2 separate regions of the Homo sapiens genome follow, and region 2 is linked to region 1. The links are contacts of gene promoters, found by promoter capture Hi-C in human tissues and cell types (Jung and others, 2019). All regions are on one chromosome and are shown on one strand. Each heading gives the region's core, a stretch centred on a gene start or on the middle of the fragment in contact. The rest is flanking DNA. Distances are from core to core; before and after follow the strand shown. Region 1 holds the start of TMEFF2 (transmembrane protein with EGF like and two follistatin like domains 2). Region 2 overlaps NABP1 (nucleic acid binding protein 1).

Evidence for each region. Contacts are between HindIII fragments. The study calls those that stand out against the background at their distance.
Region 2: a fragment that was not itself captured here is called in contact with the fragment with the promoter of TMEFF2 in region 1 in 1 of the 25 tissues and cell types used here (hippocampus).

The regions. Positions count from the first base shown.
Region 1 is chr2:192,193,637-192,200,575 of GRCh38, forward strand. TMEFF2 (transmembrane protein with EGF like and two follistatin like domains 2) reads right to left here and starts at 1,297. Exons shown (of 10, transcript NM_016192.4): 1 at 717-1,297. The coding sequence starts at 888. RefSeq lists an enhancer at 1,243-1,818. The HindIII fragment of the contact is 5,375 bases long and covers 200-5,574 here.
Region 2 is chr2:191,680,692-191,687,639 of GRCh38, forward strand. It overlaps NABP1 (nucleic acid binding protein 1), which reads left to right. Exons shown (of 6, transcript NM_001031716.5): 3 at 1,255-1,326; 4 at 3,038-3,113; 5 at 3,539-3,605; 6 at 4,908-6,252. The coding sequence ends at 5,077. It overlaps LOC124900605 (a long non-coding RNA gene), which reads left to right and starts at 6,595. Exons shown (of 3, transcript XR_007088697.1): 1 at 6,595-6,948. The HindIII fragment of the contact is 5,545 bases long and covers 1-4,238 here.

The DNA.
Region 1 (6,939 bases), core at 47-2,546:
CTCAACTCCCCTGTACTACCTTGAAGCTTAGGGAAGCAAAGAGAGGGGCATATCTGGACTGCAAAACCAATGTCTTTTGCCGCCTAGGAGAGAAGGGAATGAGAGAGAGAGAGAGATAGATAGATAGAGAGAGAGAGAGAGAGAGAGAGAGAGAGAGAGAGAGAGAGAGAGAAATTCTATTGAAACCCAGCTCCTCTAGAATCTGTGTGACCTGGTCTTCAACGGGAGACCAGTGCGACCTCATGGCACCTTTGCCAGGAATCAGCGATTCCCCTGCAGTCACCATTTGATTTATTGCTTTCTCGCTCATTCTTTCTCATAAAGTTATTTCTTCCTCATCCTAGTAAGACTTTTTTCTTTAATGATGACAAAGCTTCTGTTTCAGTGTTTCCCCTAGGATTGGTGCTCTTTCAAAACAGTGAACCCAGAAAACCATCCCGTTTAATATTTCTCAAAATCCTCGCAGCTCCAATGTAAGCGCAAGCATGCAAAGGTTTCCTGCTACACCTGCACTTTCTGCCCATCCCAGAACCACCCCTCACCCCCGGGCCTGCAACAGTTCCCCTTGTTTCTCTGGATAGAGGTGGGTGGTATTAGGGGTCTAGGGCAGTAGGAGGTGAGGGGCTGAGGAGGCGCGCTAGGGTAGGCTGGTCTGTGCTGGATACGCGTGTTCTTCTGCGGAGTTAAAGGGTCGGGGACGGGGGTTCTGGACTTACCAGAGCAATTCCAGCCGGTGGGCGTTTGGCAGTCACTTAAGGAGGTAGGGAAAGCAGCGAGCTTCACCGGGCGGGCTACGATGAGTAGCATGACGGGCAGCAGCAGCAGCCAGCAAAAGCCCTCGCAAAGTGTCCAGCTGCTGCACTGCCGCGGGGACTCCCACAGCACCATGACTAGTTCGTGCAACTCTGCAGCAGCAAACGGCTTCCGAGGAACACAGGATCGCGGGGGCCGGGCAGCGGGCTACTGAGCATCCCGCGGACGGCGGCAGCAGAGGCGGCGGCGGTGGCAGTGGCACCCGGCGGGGAAGCAGCAGCCAAACCCGCGCATGATCTCGAGAGTTTCAGCAACATCCAGGGACTGGGCTCAGCCCCGGAGCGAGAGGGTCGTCCGCTGAGAAGCTGCGCCGGAGACGCGGGAAGCTGCTGCCATAAGGAGGGAGCTCTGGGAAGCCGGAGGACAGGAGGAGACGGGAGTCCAGGGGCAGACGAGTGGAGCCCGAGGAGGCAGGGTGGAGGGAGAGTCAAGGCGCCCCGCAGCCCGGCAGCCGCCTCTCGAGCTCTGCCGCCCGCATCCCTCTGGCGTTTGGGAAGCAGCAGGTCCTCAGCCCGCCCGGGGTCACGTGGGAAGAGGCAGTCGGGCTCTGATTGGTGGAGCAGGATGCAGGTCCCGGGAGGGAGGGGTCGACGAGGAGGTGCAAGGATGCAAGGAGGAGGCGGCCGCGGAAGCCACAGATGGGCTCGCTCGCCAGGCGCTGGCCCGAGTGGGGCTAGGCGGGGATGGCTCAAATGAGAAGCTCGGGCTTCAGGGTGGGCTACCCGCACACTCATATACCATTCGCCTCACTCTCCGCTCCAGGACGCCCCCTACCGAAGGCGGGGTCCGGACTAGCGCCCCTCTTCCGCGCGTGACCCCGGGCCGCGAGTGCGGGCCGCGGCTGGGTGGCGTCTCTCCGAGCTGGAGATGGTGGGGGCGGAGGTGTCAGAGGAGCAGCAGCAGCAGGGCAGAGAGGGGCGAGTCGGCGCGGGAGAGGGCGTCCTGCTGGCGACCGGCGCTCCAGCGTGCGGGAGCGCGCCGCCTAGGCTGTAGGGGGATGCAGGCTGGGAATGTCGCGGCGGAGAGGCCAGGGACGTTTCTCTAGGGATTTACAGGAAAGAGGGTGAGAGGCGATGGTGTTAGAACCGCTCTTGCCGACCTGGAAGCAACAGCAGCATCTCCCACAAGAGCGTGCAACCCCAAGGCTGCTCGCCGAGGCAGCTCAGCCATCCCGGCAGGCGCTCTCCTTCCTTCTCTCTTCTCCCCTCTCTCCTCCCAGGCCCCCCGCAGCTCCGACCCAGCCCAAGCGTTCGCAGGTTTGAATCCCTCTCCTCATCACCCGCTCCTCTCCAGCCCGTAGCCTATTAGTGTGTCCACCTGGGAGGTGCGGTCAGATGTGTTTGGAAGGTCAGATTGGTCGGGACAAGTGGTCTGAGAGAAAGAGAAAGGCTCCTCTGCATACGCCGCGGGTGGGTTGCCGGGAGCATCGGCCGGGCAGCGGCGTCCGGGAAGGGGAGAGCGGGCTCCATTTGTTGGCCCAGGCAGTGACCCTGCGTTCCTTACTCGGGTCTTTGCCGGATGGCCGGTGACCTGGGGCGACGAGAGAAGGTCTAACTCGGCAGGAGTCTCTGGCTCTGCGCGTTTCTTTCATTCTCTCCAGCGGGAAGGGCAAACGGCATAGCGGGACCCGCCTTCCGTCTGCTGCATTCTTCAGGCAGTTAGACACACTCTTTAGCCTAATGGAATTTTAGTCGCCAGTAACGGGACCAAGAGCTTTCGGGGACAAGGGTGGAGAGGAACATCTTTCTTCCATGACCGGGGTCACTATTGCAGTCTCAGTGTTTTGGATGCCCCATAGGGAAGAGCTTTCTTTTTGGTGTGTGATTATTCAGTGATTCCTGTTTTTGTTTTTGTTTATCTTCTCTCCGCTCTCCTTCTCTATTCCTCTCTGTTATCCCTCCTCCTTCTTCTCCCCCCGCTTTCAAAAGCCTCCGGATCCTCCCTTTTTCTATTTAAATTCTCCTTTTGTGCCCCTCTTTCTGTGTCCCCTGAATTTAGGAGAGCATTTGATAACATTTAACAGGCAATTAGTGTCCATTCCCAATCACTTAAAAGAGGCATTCATATACTTTGAAAACGGGACTATCTATCCTTTGCAGACACCAGCAGAAAAACAAATTGTACCCGAGTAATCCTTTTAAGTACTTTAACCTCCAACCTCCTCCCACTTCCTTGCTTTTTAACTTCTCCTTTGAGAGATGTGATCGTGCAGCACCTCAGTGCCTCAACGAAATCTTTTTTTTTTTCCTGTGTGAAATCCATCCCTTTATCTTACATCTCCGCCTCCGTCCGAGACTGTCCCTCTCCCCTCCCACCTCCAAAGATTTCTGAATCTCAGTGTCTCTCACTCCTGGCAATTAAGCAGCAGATCCCAGCATTCTAGTCGGTGGCATCTCGCTCCTCACCGACGAAGACTCCATTAAAACAGATCAATTAGACCAGACGTTGGAGGCATCAGAAAATCGGCTTCTAGACAGAGCAGCTAAATTCTTTAAGGAAACAGAATACCCATTAGATAGAGCTGCCAACTAATATTGCAAAACAAGGAATTAGAAATTTCTTTCGCTACAGGCTTTCAGCAGAGAAGGCAACATAAATATAGATCAAGATTTAACAACTCTACAGCAGAGAATGAGAACATGTCATTTTCCATAGCAAGGCTGGTGTGGTAACTAATCAGGCTTATGAAAATAAGTCATGCTTGAAACTAAAGGCAAAGTCCTTAAAAGTGTTTATGCAGTAATTATGATAATGAAACAGGACCTGCTAGGATTTCAGAGTTTGGCTATGTAAGTAGAATTTTAGAGAACCTCTTAGCAGAGGAAAACTGTTTTTGAATTTTCTGCTAAGTAAATTTTTGGCATACTTTCTAATAATATATGCTCTTCCTAAGACGTTTTGCCAAAAGTAAGTTAAAACTCCAAAGGAGTTAATTACTGGTTGTAACTGGTTAACAAATGCGGTTGCTTCCACAGAGGTCCTTTAAATTATTAAACAGTTTGAAGCAAAGCCTTTTCAATGGGAATGCTGCAATTTTGTTGCACTTACTCTGTACTTAGTGTTATAGTGCCACCAAGAAACAAATTCTGAAACTGGCAAGCACCACCAAGTGGCAGAAGAACATCACTCATTGAGCAGAGAATTGTATTACTGAATATGTAAATAAAAATATATACATTATTTAGACTTGTCACTAGGTACCAAAGAAGTAGACAAGACTGCATTAGCAATTGGATTAGTGCTTTAACTTTTCCCCAGCAAGGCAAAATCAGTTTACTTATTAGAATTAAATTTAAGTCTATGAACTGTACTTTGCATTGCGTATCATATGATTGCTAGTAATATGACACAATCATACCATGTATTTGCAAAATTCTTATTTTAAAATACTATACCATATTTACTTTCAATCTTCTTGAGCTAGAACACTTTATTTGTGGCATATACACTCTAGAATTGATGCAGAGGAGCAGAGTCCAGTTGTTAGATTTTTCAGTAGAAATAGTGCAGATATATTTTCTCCAGAAAACTTAAGAACATTTTTTTTTCTCATGGAAAGAACATCATTATAAAGTGTGAGATTACTCACAGCTTAAGTAGGGGGCTTGGGAGTTATTCTCCAACAAGAATAGTTTAAGATAAATAAATGAACCTGGGAAAATAAGATACACTGCCAATCAGAACTCTTATCTCCTTCATGATTTCATACTTTCTGATTGCTTCAATAAAGGTAAGATGTATCCTTTGCTTCTTAGGTGTCAGGCATTGTGCCATGTAGGATAGAACATGTTATTTTTATTTAATCTTTAAAACACCCCTATGAGACAAAGAATATTATCTCATTTTATATAAAAGGAATATGGCTTTGAAAGCATCAGGCAACTTGCCCCAAGAAACAAATCTCGTCAGTGACACTGCTGGGACTCTGTGAAATTCTGCCTGACTTCAGAGCACAAGACATAAGTCACTAATTTCTGCTGTATTGCTGCCTGTTAGCTTCTGAGAGGGGAAACTAACTGGGAACGTATCAGTTCTGTCCATGATACTTCATTTGCCCTTTCTGTGGAGCCGCAGTAAGGCCCAAACTTTAATTCTCAAACTTCGGCAATAAGATCCAGTGATTTCTGAACCTGGTTGATCATATGAATTCCTTGAGAAACTTTGAAACAATAGACAAATTCCAAGTCCCACTATCAGGGATTCAGAAAATCTGGAGTTGGGCCTTGGGATCCACATTTCAATATTCATCCTTGTTGGAGAAGTAAGGTACCACCTATACCTATATGACAAATGAAAGGATACCTCGATTTTTGCTCAGTTTTCACAGAGAGGTTTCTGAGACAGGTTAAAAGCTTTTACTCAGTGTAAAGATGAGCTGTTGTACATGTCTGTCTCTCTGTTTTTATGCATATGTTCACCAAATATGTATTAAGCTTCTAATATGTCTGACACAGTAACTTTGTGACTGTAGACAATTTCCTCATTTGTAAAATGTGAGTAATAACAATACCTGCCTCCTGGGCTTGTTCTAAAGATTAAAATAAAAATGTATGGTTTAATGGTAGTGGATTTGGGGGGATCCCCTATATAAATAAGTGAATGGAGGTATGAATAAATAAATACATAAAGATGTGTGTACTTATATTTATACACATAATTAAAAATAGTTAAAGATGTACAAATTAAAGTTAAATGTATGTGATATTGAAGTATATGTTGATTATTGATAATGAAGTACAGTATAATTTCTAACCCCACACCTTAACATCTCATACTTAATAACTCATATCTTAATTTCTAGCCTACTTAAGATACATAGATATAGATAGAATGTTCTAAATCATTATTGCCTTAGTTTTAATGTATAATATTCATATGAAAAAGTATCTATCAGTGTGTAGTAAATGTATTAGAACATTATTTATAGGTCAAATGATATTGACAATGTTTCAGAGTCGTCATCTTCATTTCTGGATAATTTTTCAAACTGAGAGTAATTAAATTTGCTATTTTTTCACCCTTTTCTACAATGGCAAATAACATATAAACAATGAGCTGTGATTTAAAGAAATAATTTTATAATGTAAAAGCTTCCCTATGCCTTATTGATTCCCATGCCCTTAATTAATTTTGGTAGTTTAAGTTTGTGATTTCAGTGCTGAGGAAAGTTTATTTCATCTTAGAGCAGTGGGGCTCAGTCATGATTTCACATCACAATCACCTGGATAATTAAAGAATACTGATGCAGAGTTCGTATTCAAAGACTTGGAATCCCTAGAAGTGACACAGAAGCATTGGTATATATATATTTTTAAAGTTTTCCTGGAGAAACACATAGCCATGATTGAGAACCACTGTCCTGGGGAAAGTGACTATTTTCTCATTACTCAAATAGCCAAGTTTCAGGAGGTAAAATACTTACATTTTTCTCCATTAAAACTTGTAAAACACATATCTCACCAAAGACTATTAAAACATCTAGCCAAAGCAATATGAACTAGTTAATGTTTGCCACTAGCTTGCCAGTAGTTAAAAAAAAAAAAAGGAAGAACTGTTATTGGAAGAGAGCTAGATTTAATAAGCAGTAGTCATCTCTATACAATCTGGTGTCTTTTTATTTATAAATTCAAGTAGGTTTCCATTGCTATTAATTTAATCATAGCCTTCTTAGGGCTTAGCCTAATGCTTTATTTCAAACTCATTTTGAAATTTATTCTCTGGAGTCAGAAACAGGAACTAGAATCAGCTTGGAATGAAACTACCTTTCATGTCTCTCTTTGGCTACTCATGGCTTCTATTGGGGGAAATTAGAAAAAGACTTAGTAAAGGTAGTTCTTTCCAATTTGTATTATTAACACCATCCAGTATTGCATATTCTGAGCATTTTACTCATTTATTTCATACCATAAGCCCCAATCATTTCTCCCTTTATTATCTGTGACATTGATTTTTTTTTTCTCCAAGTTACTTGTTAGTGGTAGAACAGACCCCCGGAGCACTAATGTTCCCAGCCGCTTTGCTGCTGCTCTTCTACCCACTTGTCGTTCTTCTAAAAAAATAAATAAAGAAAAAATAGAAAAATGGAGGGGAGGAACTTCTTTCATACAATATTTAGGAAAACTTAAT
Region 2 (6,948 bases), core at 216-2,715, 510 kb before region 1:
CTATAGAATTTTAAGGGGAACAATTACCTGGGAGTACAATTTAAACGAAAATTAAAAACTATAGAAACTCTATTTACTACTTCAGTATGACCTTGAGAAGTTACTACACCTCATACTTCAGCTTCCTCTTCTGTGAAATGGGAATAATTATACCTTATTTACCAAAACAACACACTCAGCTTGGAGTCTGGCTCATTCTAAGGCCCTTAAATTCTGGTTGAATCTAAGAAAAGTAGCTTTTGAAGAAAAACATACCTAACATCTAAATAATGGTTCAAATATCAACATGTTTATCAGAATACCCTGAAAACTTACCTCAGTGTTCTCATTTCTTAAAGTGAATGTTAAATATTTTAATTGTAACCAAATTTTTTCTCAAAATATGGGTTAATTTTTATTTTAGTAAGGTGAAATGTTAATGCACTGTATCCTAAGCCACTCTTTGTATAACTTAAGAGTGGTGAATGGTGTCTTTAATAAATAACCCTTTAATTAAAGTAAAGAGAACTGTATAGTAAGTTAAAGTCATGAAGTTACCATAGTAGTTGTACAGAGAACCATTGAGAACCAAACCTTGGATTGATTTTATAATATTAATTTACCTTTTTCTTAGATATCTAGGATTATTTTATGTAGTGATGCTGTCTGCTTTCAAAATTGTTCGGAGTAAACATTTGCCAGTTTGTTTACTACAAACCCAGCATGGTATTAAAAATCACATGTTTGGAAAGGCAGATAGGTGAAGCTTTGTGACCTTAGTGTTTTTTTTAGCACTTTGAAATTCTACCAGATCTTCGGTAGCTTAGGAATCCTGTGTCTTTTATGGAGGCAGAAGGAAAACTGTTATATCATTATTTGACTAGACTGTAAATGAAACATTAGGATGATTTTACATATCTTGTGGCTGAAAAATAGTTTCTGTTTAAATTTCTGCAATTAAAAGCTTTTGTTTTGTTAATTGACTAAAGATGTGATCATTGGGTATAATAATACTGGCTTTGCGAAAAGACTTATTTTCCAGAATTTGTTATGATTTAGATAATTATGTCAAAATTCGACAGAATTTTTGTATTCTTTTGTAAATAGCAAGTTATCAAAGTTAGATTTATTGTATTTGATTTACTATGGTGGATAGAGAGGGCTTGATCCTCACTTCTACCTTAATACAAAAAATATATAGTGTGAAGATTTACTTGATTTAAATAGAAGAAAATAAATATATTTCTAAAGAATTAATGTTTCTTTTCTCTCTAGGTATGCATCCATGTGGAAAGGATGTCTGACACTTTATACTGGAAGGGGTGGTGAACTTCAAAAAATTGGGGAGTAAGTATTAAAATGCATTTTGTATAATTGCATATATTATAAATAATATCTACGGAATGATTGGTAGGTATGAATTGTAAACCTCTTTGGCTTTTTTGACTAGTAAACTGAATGTCTTTGGTAGCTTAATTGAAAAAATAACTTCGTGTATACAAATTTAACACTTGTCAGTACTGTTTTCTGTGGTTAAAAGTGTCAATTTTTCCTGGCAAAGAGCAGTAGAAGAAGCTGCAGTTGAGACCAGCCCTAGTGGAAGCATTTCTGTAGGTTTTAGAAATGTGCATTTTTTAGGTGTCACAAGAGCCATTTGAAGTAGATTCTCTTTTGTAGTGATTCACCATATACGAAGCTAGTGATTCACCAAGTTTCAGGCCATAAGTTTAAATTTTCTTTTTCTATGGTTATGGGTGAATATGTACTCATGTTAAAAAGGACTTGCAGCAACGAAAACTGAAGTCCTCTATTTATCCACAGTCTAGGTGCGGTGCAGGCAGCCGCAATGCGAGATTCCATACACTACTACCCTGGTAATGATCTCCACCCTGACCTGGAGGAGCCATCCTCTCTAGGGGTGTAAGGTAATTCAGCCTCCATGTTAGCCTAGACATTGGGTTGTATTCATAAAGTATGGTACAGGCAATGAGCCAAATCATCAGTCCATTCTGTTTGGTTAATGCTCTGCCATCTACTTAATGCCTGTCAAATTGGAAGATATTTAAAAAGAGAAGCCACAAATGGCACCAGATAAAAAAGGAAAACTGTTTGCCACTGAGGGAATAAGATGCTTATTTGGAGAACCTGTGGTTAATAATGAAGGAAAAGAAATGATCATGCTAGCTTTTAAAGATCAGAAACACTTAACGCTTTGCCTTTGTTAGAAGGGAAGTTAGGATTCACTTAGAGTAGCATTAATAGAGTTATGTGTTATGAAAGGTCTTAGTGTCTGTTACTGAAAGGTTCAGGATTCTGTCCTGACCTTCATGTATTCATACAGAGGTGTTGATAATAATGGAGGTCAGTTACGTGAAAAACCGTTAGAGGTCACTCATTTCTTAATGACTGCTCTTTGTCAGGGTCAGTCGAGGATTTACCAAAACTGGTTCTGATTTGTCTTCAGTATGGTGAGGAGTAATAAAATGCTTCTTTGTAATGTTAGTACACATTATATGGTCAACTTACAGGAAGCACTTGGATAAACTGGTGGCTATGTAGCCTGTTGTTATTATTTATTGCCTAGAAACCACTCTTAACCCTAAATGATTATCTTTGCAGATCCACAGTGATCGATCAAAAGAGGGACTGAATGGGAGTGGGTGAATGGATCGGTGCAAATCCATTACCACTGCTGGAGAAACCACCCTGGAACCCTAAACATGGTTCACTCTCATGTTATTTTTCCTTTGATCAGCTTTTGTGGAAAAACAGGACAGAGATGTTTTTGTGTCCTTGATTTTTGATGTGATTTTTTTTTCAGCACTAAAGAAGAATTTAAATACAAAATAGAATGTTATATATCTTGTAGACAGTCAAATATTTGATGTTTTATGGGACATAATCATTTGGGAAGTTTTTGTTGTAAATGAAGAGTTAGTTTGTTGCTATTAATTTGTTTGACACATAAGTTCATTCCTAAAAGTTAGAGATGTTACATAAAGAAGGGTTGAGGACTTTATTTCAGAAGTCATTTAATTTTTTCTTTATTTTCTTTCAGATTTTGTATGGTTTATTCAGAAGTGCCAAATTTCAGTGAACCCAACCCAGATTATCGAGGACAGCAGAACAAAGGGGTAATTGTGTAGTATACTTTTATGATTAGGCTAATTTTGACTGTGTTATAATTCTATGATTAGGCTAGCCCTGTTGATACTTAGTATAAAGAAGATAATTTTTAAAAGGATACTTAATTTTTATTGTATGTTTTGTGAGGATATGTATCTGAGGTGTCATCTACTAGATATATGTGCCATTTTGCACTTTGTGGTGTGCTGAGTAATTATCAGGAAATAGGATGTAACAGAGCTCTGAAAGGTTTGGGAAACGTTTCTTAACATTATAACCTTTAATGACCTAGGAAAAATCTTTAAAAAATTTGTTAATTAAAAAAAAAAAAAAAGCCAAACCCAAAACTTTAAAAAAGAAAGGATATAATAATGTTGTAATAATATAATTGTGTTTTTATTCTCGTTTGGTTAAATTAAAAACTTTTTTTTAGGCACAGAGTGAACAGAAGAATAATTCCATGAATAGTAATATGGGTACAGGTACATTTGGACCAGTGGGTAAGATTTTGTTTGTGTGTTTCATTTGTGATCAGGTATAAGAATGAAGAGAGCTGTAAAGATTCACGTGAAAAGCAACGTCTTTAGGCATAAATTAGTGATAAAGGTGAACTACCAGTAAACAGGGAATCCCCAAAGGGCTGATTTTCTAGAAAGTTGATAAACTTAAGCCAGTTTATTGAGAATTCTAAGTTTTTGTGATGTCCGTGAAGAGATACCATGCTATTTTTTTTTTATTGATTCCTATAAAATTTCTATAATCTAGTGATTACTTATAGTAGATGCAGAATTACTGGTTATTTTGGTGCACTGAAAGCGTTTTATCTTTAGAGTCATAGTTCACCTTAATTTTTCACATACAAGTAGCTGCTGCTTTAAAAGATGAGCTGAGCCGTTTAAAGGCTAGTGACCCTCAGATGTCATTTAACATGACCCCCAGACATCATGTTCATGATCCTTGTAGCTCTGTTAAAGGTCTTCTGAAGTCTTTTTTCTTAAATATATGAGGAAAAGTCAGTCTTTTGTGATTAGAGTTCATTAGGATGGCTCATGTTTTGGTTTTGTTTTGTTTTTGAGACAGGGTCTTACGCTGTTGCCCAGACTGGAGTGCAGTGGCGTGATCTTGGCTCATCGCAACCTCCACCTCGCAGGCTCAAGTGATTCTCCTGCCTCAGCCTCCCAAGTAGCTGGGATTACAGATGTGCACCACTACCACCCAGCTAATTTTTATATTTTTAATAGAGATGGGATTTCACCATATGGGCCAGGCTAGTCTCGAACTCCTGACCTCAAATGATCCACCTGCCTCGGCGTCCTAAAGTGCTGGGATTACATACAGGCGTGAGCCACTGAACCTGGCCAGCTCATGTTTTATTTGACTCGAAGGCTACATGTCTTGGCATTGCTGATCACATTGTGGGAAACGCTGCCTTTGCCTTTAAAAAGTTAGAATAACATTGTCTGTTTTGAGATATTAATCATATTTGAGCCAAATTCCAATATTCACTATTTTGCCCTTTCTTTTTCTTTTATAGTGTAGGCAATGCATTTTTTTACTCTATTAATTTCTAATTTTGATGCCCAAGTTGGCTTTTTTCTCTCTATTAATACAGCATCAAGTTAGCATATTTATAGCAATACATTTGGAAAAACTTAGAGCCCACATTGTTTTTTTTTTCTGTATAAAAATAAAAGTGTGTGCTTTAATATTTTTAAGCATTAATAACATGTTGGCACTTAAGATAGTTCTACTTCTATAGACTACCTCTGAAAATAGTGATGAATTTTTGTATTCTTTTTTAGGAAATGGTGTTCACACTGGCCCTGAATCAAGGGAACACCAGTTTTCACATGCTGGCAGAAGCAATGGCCGGGGACTTATAAATCCACAACTACAAGGAACAGCTAGTAATCAAACAGTGATGACCACAATAAGTAATGGCAGGGACCCTCGGAGAGCCTTTAAAAGATGACCTATGCTAAATACTCATGTGTAGTTTTTATACTACATGCCCTACTTGAACACTTATTGCACTTTTATTTATTGTTAACTGTGAAAAGTACGTCCTTTATTGGGTTTCCTTTTATATTCTTGGTTTGTTAAGAAGAATGGTTTGTTTTTATAGCAAAACTGTTAAGCTGCTCGAGTCTCCTGTTGAAGAATGGGAACACTGAAAAGTAGGGGCATTTATTTTTAGAGTAAAAAGATTATTGGATAGCCTTTAAAAAACCTGCACCCATTTCATGGGTGAGTTACTTAAGACATCAGCTTTATAGCCTCTATGAGTCTATCTTCTGTATAAGTTTTGTAATATTTAACATAAGGCTTAATGGGAGATGTTCTTTTGTCTTGTATTCAGATATTGCCAACTAAAGCAATAACCATCAAAAAACACAAGAACTTGTCAATGCTAGCAGTAATTTTTGAGTGTTTGTGGCTCTCGGAATGATTGACTTCGTTCAGTGACTACTATTAAGATTTTCCAAGGACTGACTCATCCCAAATTTTTGTTGTATTACCAAAAAAACAGATTCCTTATCAGAATTTGGAATAGAATGTGATCTCTATTGCAACAAGTAATTTTAAAAGAAAGCTACATTTATTTTAGAGTAGTGCTCCTAACATGTATTATCAACTTTGTGGATTACATTGGAGGAAAATTTAAAACTGGGGCCTTGAATATTTATTTTTTGAAACTACCATGTTAAATACTGAAGTATAATTTGGGGGAGTTATAAAGTTATGATAAACATTCATCTGATTATTTTAAACAATAGTTGTGGTAGATAAACATACTGGAGGTGAGTCAAATTGAATTCATATAGTAACATGCAGTCTGAAGTCCTAGTTACTTAATAGGTACTCAGCCTGGAGTGAAAATCCTGGGTACTGACTTTGAGAGGAGTGAGTGTGCATGTTGTCAAAGTTTCTGAACACAGTTCACATAGCCTTATTAGCAAAAGTTTTAAGAAATGGCTCTATCAAAGAAGCAATTGCAGCTTTATTCAGAAATATAAAAGTGGAATTTATGTACATGTCATAAGTGGTACCCACTTCCCCTTTTTACTGTAGGGTGGATAACTCTTAGGATTTAACTCTTTGAATATTATCTCTTGAATAAAGCATGTGTTAATGTTAACAAACCTACGTAATTTTTGCCCTTTCAATGACTTACAGTGGAGAGCCAGTACATCTTAACTACTGTTGTAGTGATGGTATCAACCTCATGGTTACTTAGCTCTGCATTTGTTGCTTTGTTTTTTTTCCACTTCAAATCACAAAATAAGTAGATTTTGTTTTCTGAAAACTCCATAGCATTTGAATACAAAAAGTTGTGCCAGATTGTTTGCCCTAATTCACTGTGTTTAACAAATATTTCAGTACACACTATGTATTAGGCACTGTGTGGAAAGTGTTAAGGGGTAGACAAAATACCGAATAATCTCCACAAGTTTATTTGTGGTCTATAGTACTTTTGTAACTGGGGTTACAAAAATTATAGAAATTTTTTTCCTTTGTTCATATGCATATTCATGATTATAATTTGGCTTTGTTTGTGATTAATGTTTTCTTAAGATTTTCACATTATAGAATACCTCAAAAGAAGTTGTCTAAGGACTGGGATAGAGAGTATGTTTCATAAAATTGTAGATGTTTAGAATTTTTAAAAACCCTACAAATTAGTATATGATTGTTTTATATAAGTAAGATAGGAGCAACACTTTAAATTATTTGTGGGAGAATACAGCATTAAAGGTGATTTTAAAAGAAAAAAATTTGGAATTTTAGAAAATTTAAATGCTGTCAGGTATGGAATGCTGGGCTTCCAATCCTGGCCTCATT